Regions from separate parts of the Homo sapiens genome. Here all the other regions are linked to region 3. The links are contacts of gene promoters, found by promoter capture Hi-C in blood cells and fetal thymus (Javierre and others, 2016). All regions are on one chromosome and are shown on one strand. The core of a region is centred on a gene start or on the middle of the fragment in contact, and the rest is flanking DNA. Distances in the headings are between cores, read along the strand shown.

What was found. Contacts are between HindIII fragments. The CHiCAGO score rates a contact against its expected background, and 5 or more counts as called.
Region 1: a contact is called between a fragment that was not itself captured here and the fragment with the promoter of NAPG in region 3, in 10 of 17 cell types (fetal thymus, total B cells, naive CD4 T cells and 7 more). The highest score is 13.1, in fetal thymus.
Region 2: a contact is called between a fragment that was not itself captured here and the fragment with the promoter of NAPG in region 3, in 1 of 17 cell types (non-activated CD4 T cells). The highest score is 5.0, in non-activated CD4 T cells.
Region 4: a fragment that was not itself captured here is called in contact with the fragment with the promoter of NAPG in region 3 in 1 of 17 cell types (megakaryocytes); the score reaches 7.1 in megakaryocytes.
Region 5: a fragment that was not itself captured here is called in contact with the fragment with the promoter of NAPG in region 3 in 5 of 17 cell types (naive CD8 T cells, total B cells, non-activated CD4 T cells and 2 more); the score reaches 8.0 in naive CD8 T cells.
Region 6: a contact is called between a fragment that was not itself captured here and the fragment with the promoter of NAPG in region 3, in 15 of 17 cell types (total B cells, naive B cells, fetal thymus and 12 more). The highest score is 14.9, in total B cells.
Region 7: a contact is called between a fragment that was not itself captured here and the fragment with the promoter of NAPG in region 3, in 1 of 17 cell types (M1 macrophages). The highest score is 5.8, in M1 macrophages.

Annotation. Positions count from the first base shown.
Region 1 is chr18:9,933,708-9,936,448 of GRCh38, reverse strand. VAPA (VAMP associated protein A) reads right to left here. Exons shown (of 6, transcript NM_194434.3): 3 at 236-339. Among named protein-coding and RNA genes, the nearest start is that of VAPA, 21 kb to the right of the region's middle. The HindIII fragment of the contact is 7,615 bases long and covers 1-2,741 here.
Region 2 is chr18:9,606,615-9,609,314 of GRCh38, reverse strand. The region is part of intron 2 of PPP4R1 (protein phosphatase 4 regulatory subunit 1); the gene reads left to right. Among named protein-coding and RNA genes, the nearest start is that of PPP4R1, 6.6 kb to the left of the region's middle. The HindIII fragment of the contact is 2,824 bases long and covers 1-2,700 here.
Region 3 is chr18:10,524,753-10,527,452 of GRCh38, reverse strand. It overlaps NAPG (NSF attachment protein gamma), which reads right to left and starts at 1,426. Exons shown (of 12, transcript NM_003826.3): 1 at 1,295-1,426. The coding sequence starts at 1,350. RefSeq lists a silencer at 1,034-1,283. The HindIII fragment of the contact is 5,497 bases long and covers 1-2,700 here.
Region 4 is chr18:11,149,324-11,152,023 of GRCh38, reverse strand. It overlaps PIEZO2 (piezo type mechanosensitive ion channel component 2), which reads left to right and starts at 2,455. Exons shown (of 56, transcript NM_001378183.1): 1 at 2,455-2,700. RefSeq lists a silencer at 2,103-2,552. The HindIII fragment of the contact is 154 bases long and covers 1,261-1,414 here.
Region 5 is chr18:9,908,022-9,910,721 of GRCh38, reverse strand. No RefSeq gene overlaps it. Among named protein-coding and RNA genes, the nearest start is that of VAPA, 4.6 kb to the left of the region's middle. The HindIII fragment of the contact is 5,806 bases long and covers 1-2,700 here.
Region 6 is chr18:9,952,674-9,955,498 of GRCh38, reverse strand. It overlaps VAPA (VAMP associated protein A), which reads right to left. Exons shown (of 6, transcript NM_194434.3): 6 at 1-1,446. The coding sequence ends at 1,288. Among named protein-coding and RNA genes, the nearest start is that of VAPA, 40 kb to the right of the region's middle. The HindIII fragment of the contact is 9,151 bases long and covers 1-2,825 here.
Region 7 is chr18:9,849,714-9,852,534 of GRCh38, reverse strand. The region is part of intron 6 of RAB31 (RAB31, member RAS oncogene family); the gene reads right to left. Among named protein-coding and RNA genes, the nearest start is that of TXNDC2, 35 kb to the left of the region's middle. The HindIII fragment of the contact is 2,236 bases long and covers 374-2,609 here.

The DNA of each region.
Region 1 (2,741 bases), core at 124-2,623, 590 kb after region 3:
GTGAGCCACTGCACCAGGCCAGTAGCAGCATTTCTAAATTGTTTCTAAAAAAAAATACTATTTAAAAATTCTTTCATTCTTTAAGTTAGGATTATCTATAATGAAGAAATTGGCAGTTTTTTAAAAACCTAAATTTAACTTTTAGTTTTTAGAAATTAAGTTTTTCTACTGACTGCTAAACAACACCCACAGTTTAAACTCCACTTCCCAAAACAAATTCTTCTTCTATACTTACCACAGCTTCCATATCTGAAGTGTTTGGTGGAGCAAAAATTGTCTGTACCATAAACTTGTGTTTACTCTTTTCATTCGGATCATAGTCAAAGGGCTGTAGCATTACTAAATAAGAAAAAAAGGATATATTATATTGTCTCCTGCATGTCTGAAAGACATACATTGAAACAGTTACAGATTAAATTATACTAAGTCTGGGATTTGCCTTAAACCGTATCTGGCAATAGTATCATTCCTACTACTTCACAAATATGCAAATTTAAAAAAAACCAAGAAGGGTTCAAGAAACCAAACACTGGAATGTTTAAGAATCAACTTAATGGATCCCAAGTATTTTTAAATTGTCTGTCTTTCTAATTTACTAAGTTTTGCACAACCAACAAAATAAACAATTACAATTAAAAATTAAATATGAATCTATGATTTTGCCCTTTCTAAACTCAGCTTGTGAAAATTTTCAAAACTTTGCCAACGTTAACTATAATGCCTATAAGCTCAGATTAAATATAAGTTATTAAAACTATGAATTTAGGCTTCATTTTAGTGTTTTCTGATTTAAAATTATACAACTGAGATATTTAAAGGAGAAATACTCAGTAACTTAAAACCTCACTACCATCTGTTTTTTGTTTTTTAAAACAGGGTCTCACTCTGTGGCTGAGGCTGCGCTGCAGTGCAGTGGCGCAATCTCAGCTCACTGTAGCCTCAACCTCCCTAGGCTCAGGCAATCCTCCCACTTCAGGCTCCTAAATAGCTAAGACTATAGCCACATGCCACCATGCCCAGCTAATTTTTGTATTTTTTTGTAGAGAAAGGGTTTTCGTCATTTTGCCCAGGCTGGTATAGAATTCCTGGGCTCAAGAGATCCGCCCTCCTCAGCCTCCCGAAGTGCTAGGATTACAGGCGTAAGCCACAGCACCCAGCCCATATATTGTTTTAATATAATTAATTTTTCAAAATTGTATTTTAAATAAACATCTATTTCAGAGTTTATGAATTTATTTAAATCTTCTAAGAAAACAAAAGTACACAAGGAAACCATATAGCCTCTTGAGTTCTAAAATTTATTCTACAGTCTCAATAACATTCAAAATTTTTAAGTTTTTTTTTTTTTTTTTTTGAGACGGAGTCTTGCTCTGTCGCCCAGGCTGGAGTGCAGCGGTACAATCTCGGCTCACTGCAAGCTCTGCCTCCCAGGTTCACGCCATTCTCCTGCCTCAGCCTCCCGAGTAGCTGGGACTACAGGCGCCTGCCACCATGCCCGGCTAATTTTTTTGTATTTTTAGTAGAGACGGGGTTTCACCGTGTTATCCAGGATGGTCTCGATCTCCTGACCTCAAGATCCGCCCGTCTCAGCCTCCCAAAGTGCTGGGATTACAGGCGTGAGCAATTTTTAAGCATTTATAATTTCTCGTCTTTTAAGTTTTCTAAGGTTCCATGTGGTTGTAAGTCATGCTAAATTTATGTAACATGAGTCCAATATAACAGACTATACAAAGAATCAATCAACAGTTACACAAAATATGTACATGGCATTATAGAAATTATTTCCCTAACTTTAGATTATTTCTAAGATATATCTCTACACTTTCAAAAAGATAAACACGGGTAAATAAATGTAAGAAATAATTATGTAATAAAGTCTTATTCATAAGGTGTGTCTGAGAAGTCCATTAACTGCTATCAAGGTTAAGACAACTTTTTCAAGGGGCCAAATACACAGCAGCAGGAAATGTACTGGATAAAATGCCTCAGAATACAGCTTAAGCTAAATAAAATTCCATTAGCAACCTTCACTGAGTTAATGATTATAAGCTAATCACTATGAACCAAAAATTTGTGAATAAAACGAAAACTTACAACATGGTTAAGTTTATAGGAGTTATACTCTAATTTAGGTTGCAGACCACATAACAAGACAAAGACGATCTTGAAAACATATATAAAAATGTGCACAAATTGAAGCAAATTCAAAAAACAAAGCGTCAAAAGGACACAGGGAAAAAGAGAAATGAGCATGTAGTACAGAGAATTAACCAGAGAAGGTTGTTGGAAGAAGCATAGCTTTGAGTGACTGTAAATGGAAATACACTACACTAAAAACTGGAAAAGCCAAATTCTAATTAAGTAGAACAATCCAAGGGCATGTTTGCGTAATCAGTAACCAGTTTGTCTGAAGGTTTTAATAAGTCAGGTTTCTGTGGGAGAAAGTGTTTTGATACGTTGTTTTCTCAAGAAATATTAATACACAGAAACCAGCAATCTAGGCCCCTCAAAGAAAAAGTCATTCTGCATAGTTGTATGGATTCCTAGGGATATAACTGTTTGTACCAATAAACTATTTTTAGCCATGTGGATTGAAATAATTATATCTTCTGGCCAGGCGCAGTGGCTCACGCCTGTAATCCCAGCATTTGGGGAGGCTAAGGTAGATGGATCACTTGAGGTCAGGAGTTCGAGACCAGCCTGGCCAACATGGTGAAACCCTGCCTCTACTAAAAATACAA
Region 2 (2,700 bases), core at 76-2,575, 920 kb after region 3:
AAGGTGCCCTTGAACGTGAATCATATTTAGGAGTATTGTTAAATAGGGATTTGGGAGGGTGAGTCGTGAGACCTGGTAGCCTGTTTTGACTGCTGCCAACAAGCCTGGATGGAGAGATCTTTATTTAGAGATAATATCATTGATATCTTAGAAAAGAGTGCTTTTAAAATGGTTTCAGTGGTACCCACATGTGTGTTGGATCAATTAATGATACCTCTGCTAACAACTTCCCACATAAAATTGAAAGAGAGAGAGAGAGAGACAGAGAGAAAAACCCCTTTGTAAATATGCTTGGGCCTGTAGCTACACGATCCACTGCCCTCCCCCCTCCAAAAAATAAAAAACCAAGACACCTAAATGCATACTTTTTGTTTGTTCCTGCCTGTGAAAGATAAATAGACCTCAGGAGGTAAAGTTCAGAAGTCTGCTGCCACATTTGTTTGATCTCTGGTTTATTATTTCTGGTCCTTTTCTCTCAGTCTCCTCAAAACAATGAATGTATGTTTATTAAACTATTGTTACCTTGCTCCTATGTTTGTATTACATCTTTTTTTTATATTTTGGAGTAAAAGAATTTGAAAGTTCCTAAATTTGAATTAGAGTTGTGTTGTTGTTTTTAAATTGGAGCTGAGAATAAACCTAACTTAGTGTTTTGGGCAGAAGTCTGGATGGCACACCTATGGAATTTTGGCTGAGGAGGTATTCCCTCTAATTTCTATAAGAGGGTCTGGAACTTGCTCTGCTTTTAGCACAGATCTTTGAGCTGGTGACATCATCAATGCTGCTTCCTCCACATTCATTTCTTAACTCTCCTAACTTTTAAGTCATCTTAGCTTCTTATCTCCCTAGACTAAGGAGCAAACTTAACTTACTTTCTGGCCTTATTGATATGAATGTGGTTGGTATTTGAGCATCTATCATGCAGTCATTCTGGAAGATACCTCAGTATAGTTTTGTGTAGGGGAAAGAACACTGGGCTTGGTAAGCCTTTAGACCTGAGTTAATATTCTGGCCCTGCCATTTATTCTCTTTATAATCTGAGCAAGTTAACTTTTTCTCAGCTTTCTACCTTTAAAATGTTGATGGATTTTTGGATCATCTGCAGTTTTTTTGCTGTTACAAATAAAGCTGCTATGAACATTCACACACAAGTCTGTGTGAATATATATGTTCTTTCTCTTGGGTATACATCTAGAAGTAGAATGGCTGTTTAACTTTTTAAGAAACTGCCAGCCCGGTGCGGTGGCTTATGCCTGTAATCCCAGCACTTTGGGAGAACGAGGCGGGTGGATCACCCGAGATCAGGAGTTCAAGACCAGCCTGGCCAACATGGTGAAACCCCGTCTCTATTAAAAATACAAAGAATTAGCTGGGCGTGGTGGTGCATGCCTGTAATCCTAGCTACTCGGGAGGCTGAGGCAGGAGAATCACTTGAACCTGGGAGGCAGAGGTTGCAGTGAGCCGAGATTGCATCATTGCACTCCAGCCTGGGCAACGAGCGAAACTCCATCCAAAAAAAAAAAAAAAAAAAGAAAGAAAGAAAAACTGCCAAACTGTTTTCCAAAGTGGTTATATCATTTTCCATTCCCACCAAAAGTGTATGAGAGTTCCAGGTCCTCATCATCATTGTCAACACTTAGTGTGAGCAGTCTTAATTTTAGCCACTCTTATTAAATGTATAATAGTATTAATTTGTGGCTTGAATTTGCATTAATGGCTAATTATGTTACTCTTTTTATGTGCTCATTTGCCATCTAACTTATCTCCTTTGGTGAAGTGCCTTTTCACATCTTTTGCTCATCTTTTCATTGGGACATTTTCTTATTAAATTTTGAGAGTTCGTTATATATTACAGATACTTAAGACATATACAAAGGCAGATGGACCATCATGTCTCTACTACTCGGTTTTGACTTTCATTTATCCATGTTTCTGTTTTTGTTTTTTTTTTTTTGAGACAGGGTCTGGCTCTGTTGCCCAGGCTGGAGTGTAATGGCACTATCTTGGCTCACTGCAACGTCTGCTTCCCGGACTCAAGTAATCCTCCCACCTCAGCTTACCAAGTAGCTGGGACCACAGGCCTGCACCACCACGCCTGGCTAATTTTTTTGTATTTTTGGTAGAGATGGGGTTTTGCCATGTTGTCTAGGCTGGCCTTGAGCTCCTGAGCTCAAGCAATCCACCTGTCTTGGCCTCCCAAAGTGCTGGAATTACAGGTGTGAGCCACTGCACCCAGCCTGATGTAGATCACTTTTATATTTAAATCTATGAAATTCATTTTTGATAGAAATAACTCATTTATTCAATACTTCATTTATTTAAGATTGGTGGCAATTTGGACCTGAGTTAGTTCAAATTTTGTATTTGGATTACCTGTGGGAAAAAAGGTTACTACCAAAGTAATTGCGTTAAGAGTGCAAAGAAAATTTTTACTCACTGAAGGGAACAAATATCTATAATATTTGGGAGATCCACAAGTGTATGTCAGAGCAAGTGCTTTGTTATACTACCTTTCTGTTAAATACTGTTTGTATACATAATCTTGGTAACTAACTTGAAACTAGATAAACATGCCACTACTGTATTATATAAATAGAAATACATTATACATATGGTGTATATATATAAATATAAATACATATATGAATATACATATAGTATACTTCAGCAAATTATTCTTGCCTTAAATTCAGTTGTGCT
Region 3 (2,700 bases), core at 177-2,676:
CAGCACCTTACACGCTGACTGCCTCGAGTCATGTGATAGAGCTTGAGTTTTTCCACTGTTTGAAAACTGGCTCTGCGATCTTTCACCTGTGCAGTTGGGGGCAAGTCGTTATGAGGCTTCCCTGAGTCTCATTTCCTCTTACGAAAAATTAGAATCTCTATTTGGAAAGTTATTGTGAAGATCTCAGCTTATGAAATTATGTATGTGAAGCACCCACCACAGAGCACAATGCTGACTTTTTCTTTTCTTTTTTTTTTTTTTTTTTGAGACGGAGTCTCGCTCTGTGGCCCAGGCTGGAGTGCAGTGGCGCGATCTCGGCTCACTGCAAGCTCTGCCTTCCGGGTTCAGGCCATTCTCCTGCCTCAGGCTCCCGAGTAGCTGGGACTACAGGCGCCCGCCACCACGCCCGGCTAATTTTTTGTATTTTTAGTAGAGACGGTTTTCACCGTGTTAGCCAGGATGGTCTGGATCTTCTGACCTTGTGATCCGCCCGCCTCGGCCTCCCAAAGTGCTGGGATTGCAGACGTGAGCCACCGCGCCCGGCCCACAATGCTGACTTTCTATTAACTGTAACTGCCAGATAAAAATGCACTGGAGTAATGAAACGGGGGGAAGAGGCTGCCAAAAGGATGAATTAAGGATTATCAGTTCAGTCCCACAAACATTTGCAGGGTGCCTACTACGTACTGTACCAGAGGTGGCAGGACATACACATCAAAGGACGAACGAAGCACAGTCCCTGCCCACAGGGACAGTAAAATGCCAGATGACAAAGGTTCACCGAGGAGTTTTTGGGGTAAACCTATGGTCCCCTCCACACAGGGGGCTCTTCTAGGGCGGTGGTTCTCAACAGAGCGATGTTGTTCCCCAGATGACATTTTGGGTTGCCACAAATGGGGAAGAGATGCGACCGGCACCCAGCAGGTAGAGGCCAAGGATGCTGCTAACGAGCCTCCGATGCACAGACAGCCCCCACCACAATCTTCAGGAGCAGAGCGCCCAAGTAGAGAAGCCCTCGCCCCGCAGCACTGCGCCGAGTCCCCGCCCACACCGGCTCTGGGGAGCGGACTTCCGGCGGGGTGGACCCACGGCGCTTCCCGAGGCGCCGCAGAGCTGACCCCGACCCCGGGAGTGTGACCCAGAGGACACCGAGCCCCGGCAGCCCTGCGGGCACCAGCGCGCCGAGGCCCCTCAGCCCTGAGCCCTCCCTCCCGCCCCCCCCGGGTGCTAAGGCCGCGCCAGTGAGAGACGGACCCGGCGTCTACACACAGGCCCCCGGAAGGTTCTCACTCACTATTTCTCTGCTTTGGCGAGGTGTTCCAGCCCCTCGTTTATCTTCTGAGCCGCCATCTCCACAGTCAGGTCTCTGACGTGGAGAGAGGGTGACCCTGCCTCTTCCTCCGGCGCCAAGAATCCGCCCAAATAGGCGTGGGAACGCCGAGGAGGAAGCTGGTGCAGCGCGACAGTCGAGCGGCTACGGAGGGCCGGAGGGCCCAAGCCGCTGCGACGAAGCGGGGCTGGGAGCCTGCCGGTGCGCCCCGCAAAGAGACATTGCGCAGGCGCAGCGCGTCAAGGCTGGCCCCACCTAGGGCATCTAGCGCAGGCGCGGTGAGATACTGATGGGGCGTATTCTTTCATTCAATATTTGCAAAGCACCTAATATGTGTCAGGCACTATTTTAGATGCGGGAAGATCAGCAGACAAAAACTCCCGCCCTCTTGAAGTCTTGCTTTTTCATTAATGTGAAACTGCTGTGGATCCTGTTTGTAGGGTTAATTGGCTTTATAATTTATTACATCTGAAGTTTCTCTGTATGACAGATAGAATAGTATTCTTCTATCCATTCTGCCTTTTGGGTATTAATTGTATGTCAGTCAAGAAACGAAACAGACTTGTAAACCCTGATTACTGTCAAATAATCCGCGCCCAACCCAAATAATCGCTCTAATATTTCAAGCCGTGATAAGTGCTCTAAATGGGAAGTTGAGGGATCTAAAGTCGCGTACAGTGGTCTGGTAAAAATAGTAACCAGTAATACAGTTGGCTTCATTCATAATTCATGGTGATTTCAATATCCACATGGATGATTCCTGCAATGACTATACAGCCTCTCAGCTTCCAACCTCCTGTGATCTTTCCCACACTAGCGCAGCCACACATTCCTGGGATCACACCCTTGACCTTACTCATAACTGTGTACCCTCCGTAGTGTCAGTTTCAAACAGCTCACTTTACTTCCCCTTTCCATTCCAGCTCATACCTCCTAGTGCTAGTAATTACTTAACCTTCACCAGATTCCTCACCTTTCCCTATCCCTCTGCTCTTACACGTCCTTCTTTTCCCAGCATAAATTCATGTCCCATCATTTTAGTGCGTATACTCTCAACGGCCTTGGCTCCCTCTCCCTCCTTTCTCCAAGCCAGGAAAAACCCCAGCTCTCCACCTACTCTGGAACTGCTCTTGAGCAAGTGAATTTGACTGGAAAAAAACAAACGAGGATGCTAACATTACTCATTTTAATGATCATAAACATTAAGCCGACCTTTGGTGCTGCTGAGCAACTCTCCTATGTTTCCATGGTCAAATCACTCACCCACTCACTTGGAGGGCTGTTCACACCTTCCTTCTCAAAACTCCTACACAATCTCTGCTTGCCTGCCAACTCTCACTTATTGTTGAATATGAAATAACTATTCGAAG
Region 4 (2,700 bases), core at 88-2,587, 620 kb before region 3:
TCAATAATGATCAAAAGAAGTCATTGTTTGTCATTGTGGATGCAGAGAGGCATAGGGTGTCTGGTGCTTAATTCATTACCGGGGTAAACTGGTGATTATACACATCAGGTACCCATGAAATATCAAAATAATATGTCCATGAGTATTTTACATGTTTGATTTCTCCCCAAAGCATTTTTAAACTCACATACTCTTTCAAATTTTAGACAAGATTCTGGCAAACTTTGGAATAAAGTTTGCCAGGCAAGCAGAGCTCCCGAACAGTGATCAATACCCTCATGGGCTGGTGAGTCCTTAAAAACTAACCTGTCTAGACACCAGATACTGCTTCTATGAGAGCAGGGAAAATTGAGGGTTAAACAGCCCTTGTAAAAACAATGCCACTGCTATGGATATGTATGCTCAAGTCAAGTCCATTGTGAAAGAAAATACAGCTTCAGAAAGGTGGATGAGGTTTGGAGATGCTGGTTTTGAAAGCCAATGGACTATTTTCTGAGTCTGATATGAAAATGAGGACAGCGGTCTTCACCCCTGACTGCATACTTAAGAATCACTTGAGAGCTTTAAGAAAAATACAGGTGTGGGGGCCCCATCGCAGACCAATTAAATCAGGATTTCAGGGAGTGTGGAGACTGAGCGTTTTTCAAAAGCTCCCCAGGTGACTGCAACATGTAGCCAGCATGGAGAAGCCTATTTCAGATGTAGTCTAGACCGCTGAAACTTCCCCTTGAGTACATACGTTGGAAGTCTCAGAACTGGGATGTAGTTGTTAAAATCTCTAACGCCCCAGCAGCCAAGTTGGTACACACTGTGGCAGAGAAAGCTCGAAGTTTATTTGGTAAGACCACCCACCTGCTGGGAATCTTGTGCCTCCCAGCTTATGTTATTTTGAAAGAGAATTATTGTGAAAAAGTCTAGACAGTTGTTAGTATGGGAAGCCTATCAAGAACATAAGAAAGTATTCAGAGAATACAGAATTCATGTGATGACACAGTATTATTTAAAATTCAGGAGTCCTTCACCTATTAGCTCCCAAGAATGAGTCGTACATGGGGTGAGGTGGGGAGGGCATGGATGTGAAGGCAGACTTATGAACATCAAAATTAGTGGTAGATTTATATCAGGCTTCTACAAACAGGCTACACAAACCATTTCTTGATAGCATTTCTTGGTGACTGGATGCTAATTTAAGTTCTATCGTCTCCTGTAGGTCTGCTGTTGAGCTCATGACTACGCCCGGGTTTAGGTGCTATCTAAGCTTCTTGAGGATGGCAGAGCACATGGGTGGTTTAAGTTTCAGGGTGTCTTCACCATATGCCAACTGTCTTGAGTCTTCATTCAAAAAGCAATGGTTCATAGTTTTTCTGTAATTCTCAGAGAATTCGTGAAGGCACCTGAGCTCAAACCACAAGCTTACCCTGTCTCAAAAAAGGGATGTCCACAAAAGCGTTTCAAATGGCTAAAAAGACGGGGGTTTGCCTGTTTTTCATCAGCTCACTGCTCTATCCCCTCCAACTAATGCAAGCCAGGAATGTAGGTGCGGAAGGGAAGCCAGGTCCTTCCCAGTGTGTCCTCCTGATGGAATGCCAGTCCTGAACAGTCCTCTCTACAGATGCTAACAGCCTCTTCCTCCATGTCCGGAAAGACCCCTACTGTGCTCTAGCAAATCTCCTCCACTCTCGGATAACAGTTAAATAAAAGACCCAGGCACACTGCAGTCTCCCAGCTAGAGCCAGATTTCTCTAGATCTTGCCTAGAACAGGCAAAAAGCAGTGCACTAGGAGAAAGGGAGAATATTCTCAGTGCCAACGCTCTCTTTCCCCAGAGCCACGACAAGCAAGGAGCAAAACTGAGGTGAAAACGGAGAGTTCCCCCAAATGCACAAAGTGGGTGCATTATCTGTTGGGGAAGACCCGGGATTTCCCAGAGTCTATTCAGAATGGCAAGTTCTTGCTATGTGAAATATGGGCAGGGTCAACGGTGTAGATGAATTCAGCTCTATTCTTCTTAATGCCAGTGTGCACCTGTGGACCCAGCAGAAGTCGGGGTCGCACAGGACTCTCCAAGCCCCTGGCTTCTCTCCTGCCGGGCCTGTGCGTTTCCCTCGGACCTTAAACGGTTCCCTGGGTTTGGGCAAGCTCAGGGCCCGGCCGGGTGGACTGGATGCCAGGGTGCACCACCGGAATGACAGAACCACGCAGAGCCGCGGGGCTGCGGGAGCCAGTGGGGCAGGAGTGCCCGCGGAGGGCGAGCCAAGGCGCGCAGCCCACTGGCAGGCCAGGCCGGGTCTCTCCCAGGCGCGGGAGCCGCGGGTGGGGGCTTGCCCTCCGCGCCGGTGCAAGGCTCTCACTTCCCCAGCCGCTCAGGGGCGGGCTCCGCGCGCGCAGGCCCCGGAGCCGCCATCCCATTGGCCGGGGGACACGCCCGTCCCCGAGTGAGGGCTTCGAAAGTTTCATTGAAGGTGGAGAAGCGCGCGCCGCCGGGGAGCCCCGGCTGCGCCGCGAGGGCGAGGCTGCAAGGCGGCAGGCGGTGGTCGCGCTGGGCGACGGGACGGCGCTGGTTTTTCTCTTGAGTTTTAAATTGAGGCGGTGGAGGAGGGAGTGGGAGACCCACTCACCCGATATGCGCTCTGGTCTCCATTTCTCCCCACGCTCGCGCCGTTCCTTCGAGTGAGGGAGGGACTCGCAGCGCCGCCCGCGC
Region 5 (2,700 bases), core at 16-2,515, 620 kb after region 3:
TAGATTGGCTAATGCAGCACAGAAAGGCCTTAAAGTATTAGCAAATATATACACTCCAGCATATCAAGCAACCAAATTTTCATGAGTCTAAGAAGTACAAAGGCTTTGAATATTATTTCAACCTATTTGAATCACTAATAGTATTCACCTTTGGACAAGTTCTCTCTTATGGACTTGGCAAAGATTTTTTTTTGTTTTCAGTACGGATAGTATCAAAGTACTTATACCCCTCTACTTCTCCATAGTTAAACATGTTAAACTTTACAGTAGAGGTGCTCTATAATTATGAATTTGTTTATGAGCAATTCTCTGAGTTATTGACTTCAGTGAACATTTAAACAGGCATGCTTTCCATAAATATTGAGGCAGTAAAGTAAAATACAGGCTTTGAATCTAGACTGCTAGGTTCAAGTTCCATTTTCCACTGTGTGATCTTTGCAGCTCACTCCACCTCTCTGTGCCTGTTTTACATCTGTAAAATGAGAAGAAGAAGAATACCTACATTCTGGGTTTGTTACCAGGATTCAATGAGTTCCTACACATGAAGAGCTTATAATAGTGCCTGATTCCAGCACTGTTACCTTATTAATATTAAATGTTAAATTACTGCTGTGTGCCCAGCACTGTGGCAGGTACTGGTGATTAGTCATGAGCTGATAGACATGGTCCCTACCCTTATAGGCTTACATTCAAGAGTGAGAGACAAAAGTGAAATAACTATACAATTATTTCATTTGAATTGTGGTAAACACTAGGAACGAGAGGTCTAGGGTACTGGGAGAGTAACCTGTGGGAACTGAGTTGAGGGTTTGGAGATTATCTCCTTCAGGGAGTAATAAGAAGTATCTCCTGAAGGATATCTGGATACCCAGGAAAGGAGAACAGAATATGCAAAGGCCAGACTGACATGAGCGTGGCTCATTGCAAATTGTAGAAGAAAGGCTGATGTGTTATGGTAAATAAAGTGGGTAGTGAGTAGCAGGAGATGAGGCTGAAAAGCCAGATTATGCAGATTGTTTCAGGCCATATTAAGGATTTGAGTCTTTATCATAAGAAAATAGGAAACCATCAAAGGGTTTAAACAATAGAGTCATATGAGCAATTCTTAAAAGTTCTCTTGACTACAATGTGGTGATTGGATTAGGGGGAGTAAGAGGGAATATGGGGAGAACTGTTTAGATTAGTGCTATAATTCAGAAGACAGAGGATGATATTACAGAGGATGGTATTGCAGAGAATGACAGTTTGGGCTAAGGTAGACACAGTGGAGATGGAGCAAATAAATACGAACAGATTTGAGAGATATTTAGGTGGTAGAATCAATAACCAATCAGCTATTGATTAGATACAGGGGTGGTAAGAGAAAGTAAGAGAGTGAGGAATCACTCCCCTTCTTCCGGTGTGTGCAGGTGAATGAATGATGGTACTAGTCACAGAGACAGAGGACCAGATTCTGATGTTGGGGTGCAGGGAAGGAAAGATCACTAAGCCAGTTTGATGTAAGATGCCTTTGAGACATTCATGAGGAAATGTTAAATAAGCAATAGAGTGTTCTGGTGGGAACTCAGGAGCAGCAGCTCTGTGCTGAAAACTGAACCTCCAAGTCTTGAGCATGAATGGTCACGGGCATGTAGGAGGTCACCTAATACAGACAGAGAAATGACCAGAACCTCATACTCCTTCTTGGGAAACTGCAACTTTCAAATATCTCATTAAGTAGAATGAGTTAGCTTGGGTGGAAGAAAAGTGGCCAGAGAGGTAAGTAGGAAAGGAGGCCATGGTTATTACTATGGATGGCTCAGTTGTCCCCATTCGGACTTCCTCCAGGGTTGCCTTACTGTATTGCGGAAGCCACTCCTTTGCATCTAGGCTCTTTTTTGGAATGAGAAAACCCTGGAGACTTAATGTATCCACCTTAGTGGCTCACAACATTGTACTTGACCTTATAGCTGTGATAAAAATTCTTGAACCCTTGGAAAACTCACACATTGCCTACTTTTCTCAGATTCTGTTGATCTCTCCTCAGCTCCCTCTAAATGACTTGTTTGCCAGTGCCAGAGCATGCTGGCAAAAAGAAAAAGCCCAACAAGCATCAGGACTCCAGAGGACTGAACCACCAGGCTTGCCCCTTGCCCAGTTCCCCGCAGGGGAAGGCGATCATACACAAATGGGACAAACAAACTGAGCCCATGGCCACGGCAACTCTCATTGTTCCTATTTGTAATCTGGTCAAAGATCAATAGAATTGTGGATTTTGAAGAATTGTAAAGCTAAATAATGGAAATGAAATCACAATTCAGATACAAGTCATAGATTTAATTAAATGTGTATGGATCGTTCTTGAAGTTTCTAGACTTACATGTAAAGGGCAATTATCAGGTGTGGCTTATCATACATCAATCTTATCAGCATGGTTCAATTTAAGAAAAAATGCATTAAGCTGAAATTAGATTGTGCCCACCAAGAAGACTTAGTAACTGTGTACTTTTGGAAATGAGTATATAAATCCCAGAGCTGTTCAGCAGTGTAGTAAACAATGTCTGGTCCCTGATTCTACATTTTCTTTTGTGACATCATTAAGACAGAAGCCAAGTGTCACCATAAATTATGTAAACCTTCAGTCAGAATAATTCAATCTGTACAGGGTACATTCTCATTGTCTTTATGACAAATGGTGAGTGATTAGCATGCGACCTATGA
Region 6 (2,825 bases), core at 47-2,546, 570 kb after region 3:
CTGGATCTATTTTCTGATTCCAAAATTTTCTATCCTAGTATGAATAAATGAAGAATAGGACAAACCTAAGTGCAGGAAAGTATCAAACCCTGTAACGCATACTTATACTGAAAATGTGTTTCACATGGTTAACATTTGCAAAGGCTAAAATCATTTTTCATAAAGAAAATTCCACAGGCTTGCTCAGTATTACCAAACTTCCATAATGAACATTATTTTGAGTGCCAAATTGAGCACGAAAAAAACACCTACTTTTAACTATTATGAAATATTATGAAAAGTAGTAAGACTTATTTATTAGGCTGGTTAAAAAGTAATTTAAAACCAAAGAGAGTTAAATCTTCCTTGAGAACATACTCTCAGAACTTAAGAATGGGGTAAATCAGATGGAGCACAGCCATGCTGTACACATCAACTCACTGAAATCACATAACTTCTATTCTCATGGACCTTATTTTCTATTATCTTGAAAACAAACTGATTATAATCTCCCAAAATACCAGTGGTACCTTAAAATTTAATCAACTCCTTTCCTTAACAGAATTAGGACTTTCAATTAAAAATACTGTAATATCCAAGAGGGTTTCAATGCAAGAGAAACCTTTGCATCATAATTTCAAGTGACCATATATAGTGGAGTTCCCTCTAATAACACGACAGACACAAACAAGCTATCGAGCAAGAATCTGTTAACAGTTTTATTTTTTTTTATGTTAAATACCATGGGACAGGATTGTAAGGATGAAAAACTCAGTCAACAACTGCCTCACAAGGGATAAGAAAAATTCTGCCATGATATTAGCAAAGGTAAAGGAGGAAAAATTTACACTGTAAGAGGCACCATTTCCCCAAGGAATACCTCTTGGCATTTCCTGAATGAGTGGGATTAGCAATCTAAATAAATCATATTTCAAGAGGTAACAGCAACAGATAAAATTTAAAGGGATTATTAAAATAACATTTACAAGACTCTGAACAATTCTTGAACTCTTATTAAAACCACAAAGAAAGAACAATTCTTTATTTATGAATTTCATAAAGGACTCAATGTGCAACTGACATCTGCTAGTGATGATCTGGTAATATACAACCTGTCCAGTAGCCGAACAGTTTGTTTTTATTGTGTTTTCTAACCGTAAGAGATCATTAAAGGCAAAGCCTATATGACGCTGTACACACAAAAAAATGGTCACCGTGGGCCATACTACCAATGAAATGGTAGGTAAACAAATCTTTTTCTGGTCAAGAGAAAAAAAAAAAAAGAAACAGCACTCTGCATGCTTCACTCTACAAGATGAATTTCCCTAGAAAGAATCCAATGAAAATGGCTGCAATTACAACAAGAAGTGAAGGAAGAGGACTGGTGACATTATCTCTGAAGGATGCAGTTGAGGTTGATCCAGGTTTATCCGAATGTGCTACCTTTCTGAGCCTTAAACCTTCATCCTAGAAAAAAAACACACACACAAAAGGTTTTTAAAAACAAGCATACTAACGAGACTACTGGAGCTAAAAATCTATAGGGACGGAAAGTAGATTAGTGGTTGCCTATGGCTGGGGACGGAAAAGGGGATTAACTGCTAACCACATAAGGAAACTTTCCGGGGGTGATAGACATTCTAAAACTGAACTATAGTGATGGTTACAAAGTTCTATGTATCAATGAATTGTACACTCACAGTGGGTGTCTCCATGGGATATAAATTATACCTCAATAACACTGATTTTTTAAAACTGGAGCTGAGAAATGTATTCCTAAAAAGCAAAAGTTAGATAGGCTATATTTACCTTTTTTTAAATCCCACTAAAAATATAATTAAAGAAGAGTACTTCCAAGGTGGCCCATGGTATTTAAAATCAGTTACATCCGTCCTAGCCCAATCAGCCAAAAACTACCCAGACCTGTAGTCTGCCATTTGGGTTTACTGACACACTGCAACTAAGGAACCGGAACAGCAGAGGCACAAAAGGGTGTTCTTGCCGTAAACAGAGATATGGTATCACAGAATTTGGGGGAAGGAAACAGTTTAGCGTGAAATTTAAGTAACAGTGTTTTTATATGCTCAAAGCAAAGCAGAGGGCTGTGTGTAAAGTGGTAGCACCAGGTCTCGACTGCAAAGCAGAGAAAGAATACTGTTTCTTCAGAAACTACAAATTTAGATGAGAAATGTACATAGGAAACCCTTATCTGAAGCTCTGCACCTGGACTGGAAAATGAGGGTGCTTCTCTGTGTCAAAATGACTTAGATCCTCCAGTCAAGAGTAGGCTGCTTCATTCTTGCTGATATGGCTTCACACAGCACTATGTCTTTAGAGCAGAAGGTTTCTCAGAAGAAAGCAGAAGTCACTCCAAGCAGGAGGTTGTTATGACACTGTGTGCAATGTGAACCTTGGGAAAAATACTAATACCTGTTAACTACACAGTTGTCTTTATCTCTGTCTGTTAACCAATCTGATAAATGGCAGGACAGTTTTTTACTTTTTTCAGTACAAGGCAATATTTTCTCCCATGATTCCTTTATTGTGCTTATAAATAAACACTAACTAAAAGAGTACACCTAATGGCACAGTTTTATTTGCATTACTGGATTTTCTGGAGTTGGGTTTTTTTGGTCTCATGCTAATTAGTCCTATATAAACAGTAATTCTCAGTTTCAGCTACACATCACAAACATCTACAGAACTTTTAATACTCCTGTGATTGTGACTCATTAGGTCTGGGGCAAGCCTGGTCAACTGTAACTTTTTAAAGCTCACTAGGTGATTCACATGCAGTGTGAATTAAGAACCACAGGGCTAGGGGAATTAAAAGGGATAGTGAACAG
Region 7 (2,821 bases), core at 242-2,741, 670 kb after region 3:
GGATAAACAAATTGCATAAGGGGAAAAAAAGAAAGATGGAATGGAAAGCTATTGCTTAAGAGAGGCCTAAAAGACATACCAACTAATCCCAGCATGTGGAGATTATTTCCATTCTGATGTAAACAAATGGTAACATGCAAACAAAGAAACCATTTATGACAACTATGAACTTTTTGGAAATTTGACCACTGACTGTTTATTTGATGATAGTAATTAATATGATAACAGCATTCTGGTTATTAATATGATAACATAGTTGTCATTGTTTAAAAAAATTATGGACAAAATATTTATAGATTAAATTAGATGTCTGAGATTCTCTTCAAAATAATACAGGTGGTGAGCACAGGATGGGATAGAGATGGCACAAGCTTGGTTTTGAGTATACAATGGTTCACTATATTATTCAGTGCACTTGTGTATATGTTTGAAATTTTACATAATAAAGTGTTTTTTAAGTTCCCTGGAATCTGACCATCATGAAACAACCACTGTTAACATTTTGATATGTATCCTTCCAAGAAGGATATATTCTTGGAATAATATTTATCATTATATATATTGAAATATATTATGAAATATATGAAATATGATATTGAAATATATTATGAAATATGATATTGAAATATATTATGAAATATATGAAATATGATATTGAAATAGATTATGAAATATTATGAAATATGAGATATATTGTGAAATAAGGATATTATATGAACTGCTCTGTAACTTCCATTTCACATTCAATGATTGATCTTTTTATGTCAGTAAACAAAGATTTATGTCATCCTTTTGAATCACTTGTTTATATGGGTGTACCATGATTTCTTAAAAACTATTTCCTAACTTTTGGACAGTTCAGTAATTTCCTGTTTTCTGCTGTCATGAATAATGTTACAATAAACCACGCTGTGCAATGGGACATGATATAGACAAGCTAAGAGCATGTGCCCCGGAGCCTGCCTGCCTGTCTCTCACTTATTAGCTGTGTGCCCTGGGGAAAGTTACAAGCCTCTCCAGGCCTCAATTTCCTCATCTGTAAAACAGGGATGATAACAGAGCCTACTTCACAGGATCAAGGGTGCATTAATGAGCTAAGTATATATTTCAGCAATTGCAACAAAAGCACAGAATCAGAGCTCCGTACATATTAAACCTTGTTATTATGTTTGCACACCTGAAGAATTTCTTCTTTAGAATTGCTGGAATAAAAGACATGCCTTTTGAGACCCAACTTGCCCATATGCCGAAATGACATTATTTTACATTCACTAAATTAACTTTCTTGGTGTAAGAAAGTCTGTCCACTTTCTTAAGTGGATTGCATTTGGTAAATTAACTTTTTTTGGGGTGAGAAAGTGGACAAACTTTGTCTTTGTCCTTTCCTTGTTCCTTAACTGCTAAACTTACCTTCACCTGACAGCTTGCTGACTATTATAAAATCTGCAAACCTTTTGCTTTGCTTTAAAATTACTTTAACCTGCTACTAACTAAAGGTGCCTAGAGCACAACACTCTGTGAACAAATGTTTCCAGAACAAGACATGATCACTACCCACAAGTCTTAACTTGTTGTCTTTCATATTAACACCCCATTCCAATTTTCCAAGCCAATATGCTTGTACCTCTAAATATATTTACCTTATTTATTTATTTATTTATTTATTTTAGAGATAGGATCTCGTTCTGTTGCCCAGGCTGCAGGGCGGTGGCACAGTCATAGCTCACTGCAGCCTCAAACTCCTGGGCCCAAGTGATCCTCCTGCCTCAGTCTCCAGAGTAGCTGGGACTACAGGTGCACACCGCCATGCCCATATATTCACCTTAATAAAACAAATGTTTCTCACCTTGCTCTCAAACTAACAACAAATATAAAACCTGGTCTAATGTCTCTAGTGTCTCCAAGTGTAATTTTCAGGAGAAAGTCCTGCTTTCTCTGCCACAGTCAACACTTAAATTAACTGGAGCAAAATGCATAGCTATTTTGCTGGGTTCCACCCCAATCCAGACATTTTTCTGCTGAGCCTGCAGCTCCACCTCTCTTTGCCCTCAGGAAAAGTTAAAATACTTTTAAAGAGATATTCGAGTTAAGTAATTAAAATCCACAAACCAGCTGGCCATGGTGGCACATACCTGTAATCCCAGCACTTTGGGAAGCCAAGGCGGGAGGACCACTTGAGCCCAGGAGTTCAAGACCAGCCTGGACAATACAGCGAGACCTCATCTCTAAAAATAAAAAAATAATAATAATCTACAAACCAAAACTTGGGTTCACCACAATCCAGAATCCTATATGCTAGGCTCATAACCAAATCCAGCCCAGATCACTTGTTCCTATGCCAATCCTCCTCATTCCGGCAAACAGAACTTGGGGATGACTCTTGGTAACGCTGTCTTCCTCATTCCCCATCTCCTTCCAGTGTTATTGGTTCTTCTGGAAGATTTCTGAAATCCAGCTCCACTTCCTCCACCCTCGTCCAAGCCACTTCTCTCCTGGATTATTACAATCGCATGCCAACTGATTGAGACATGCGGAGACTTTCCTCCTTTTAAGTGTGATCTTTTTTTGTAAATGTAAATTGGACACTCTGCACTCCTGCTTTAAAAGCTTGAGGGGCTTCCAATTGTTTCAGAGTATCACCCTTACTCCCATGGCAAGGCCCTGCTGAGTCTCTAACCACAACTTCCCACAGCACTCCTTGCTCTTCCTTAAAAGCACCACGACATTTCCTGCCTTGGGACTTGGCTCCTGCGGTTTGCTCTGCCTGATAGCTCTTTGCCCACTGGCCTTTTCTCGTTTTTCAGGTCCAGCTTAAAATCAT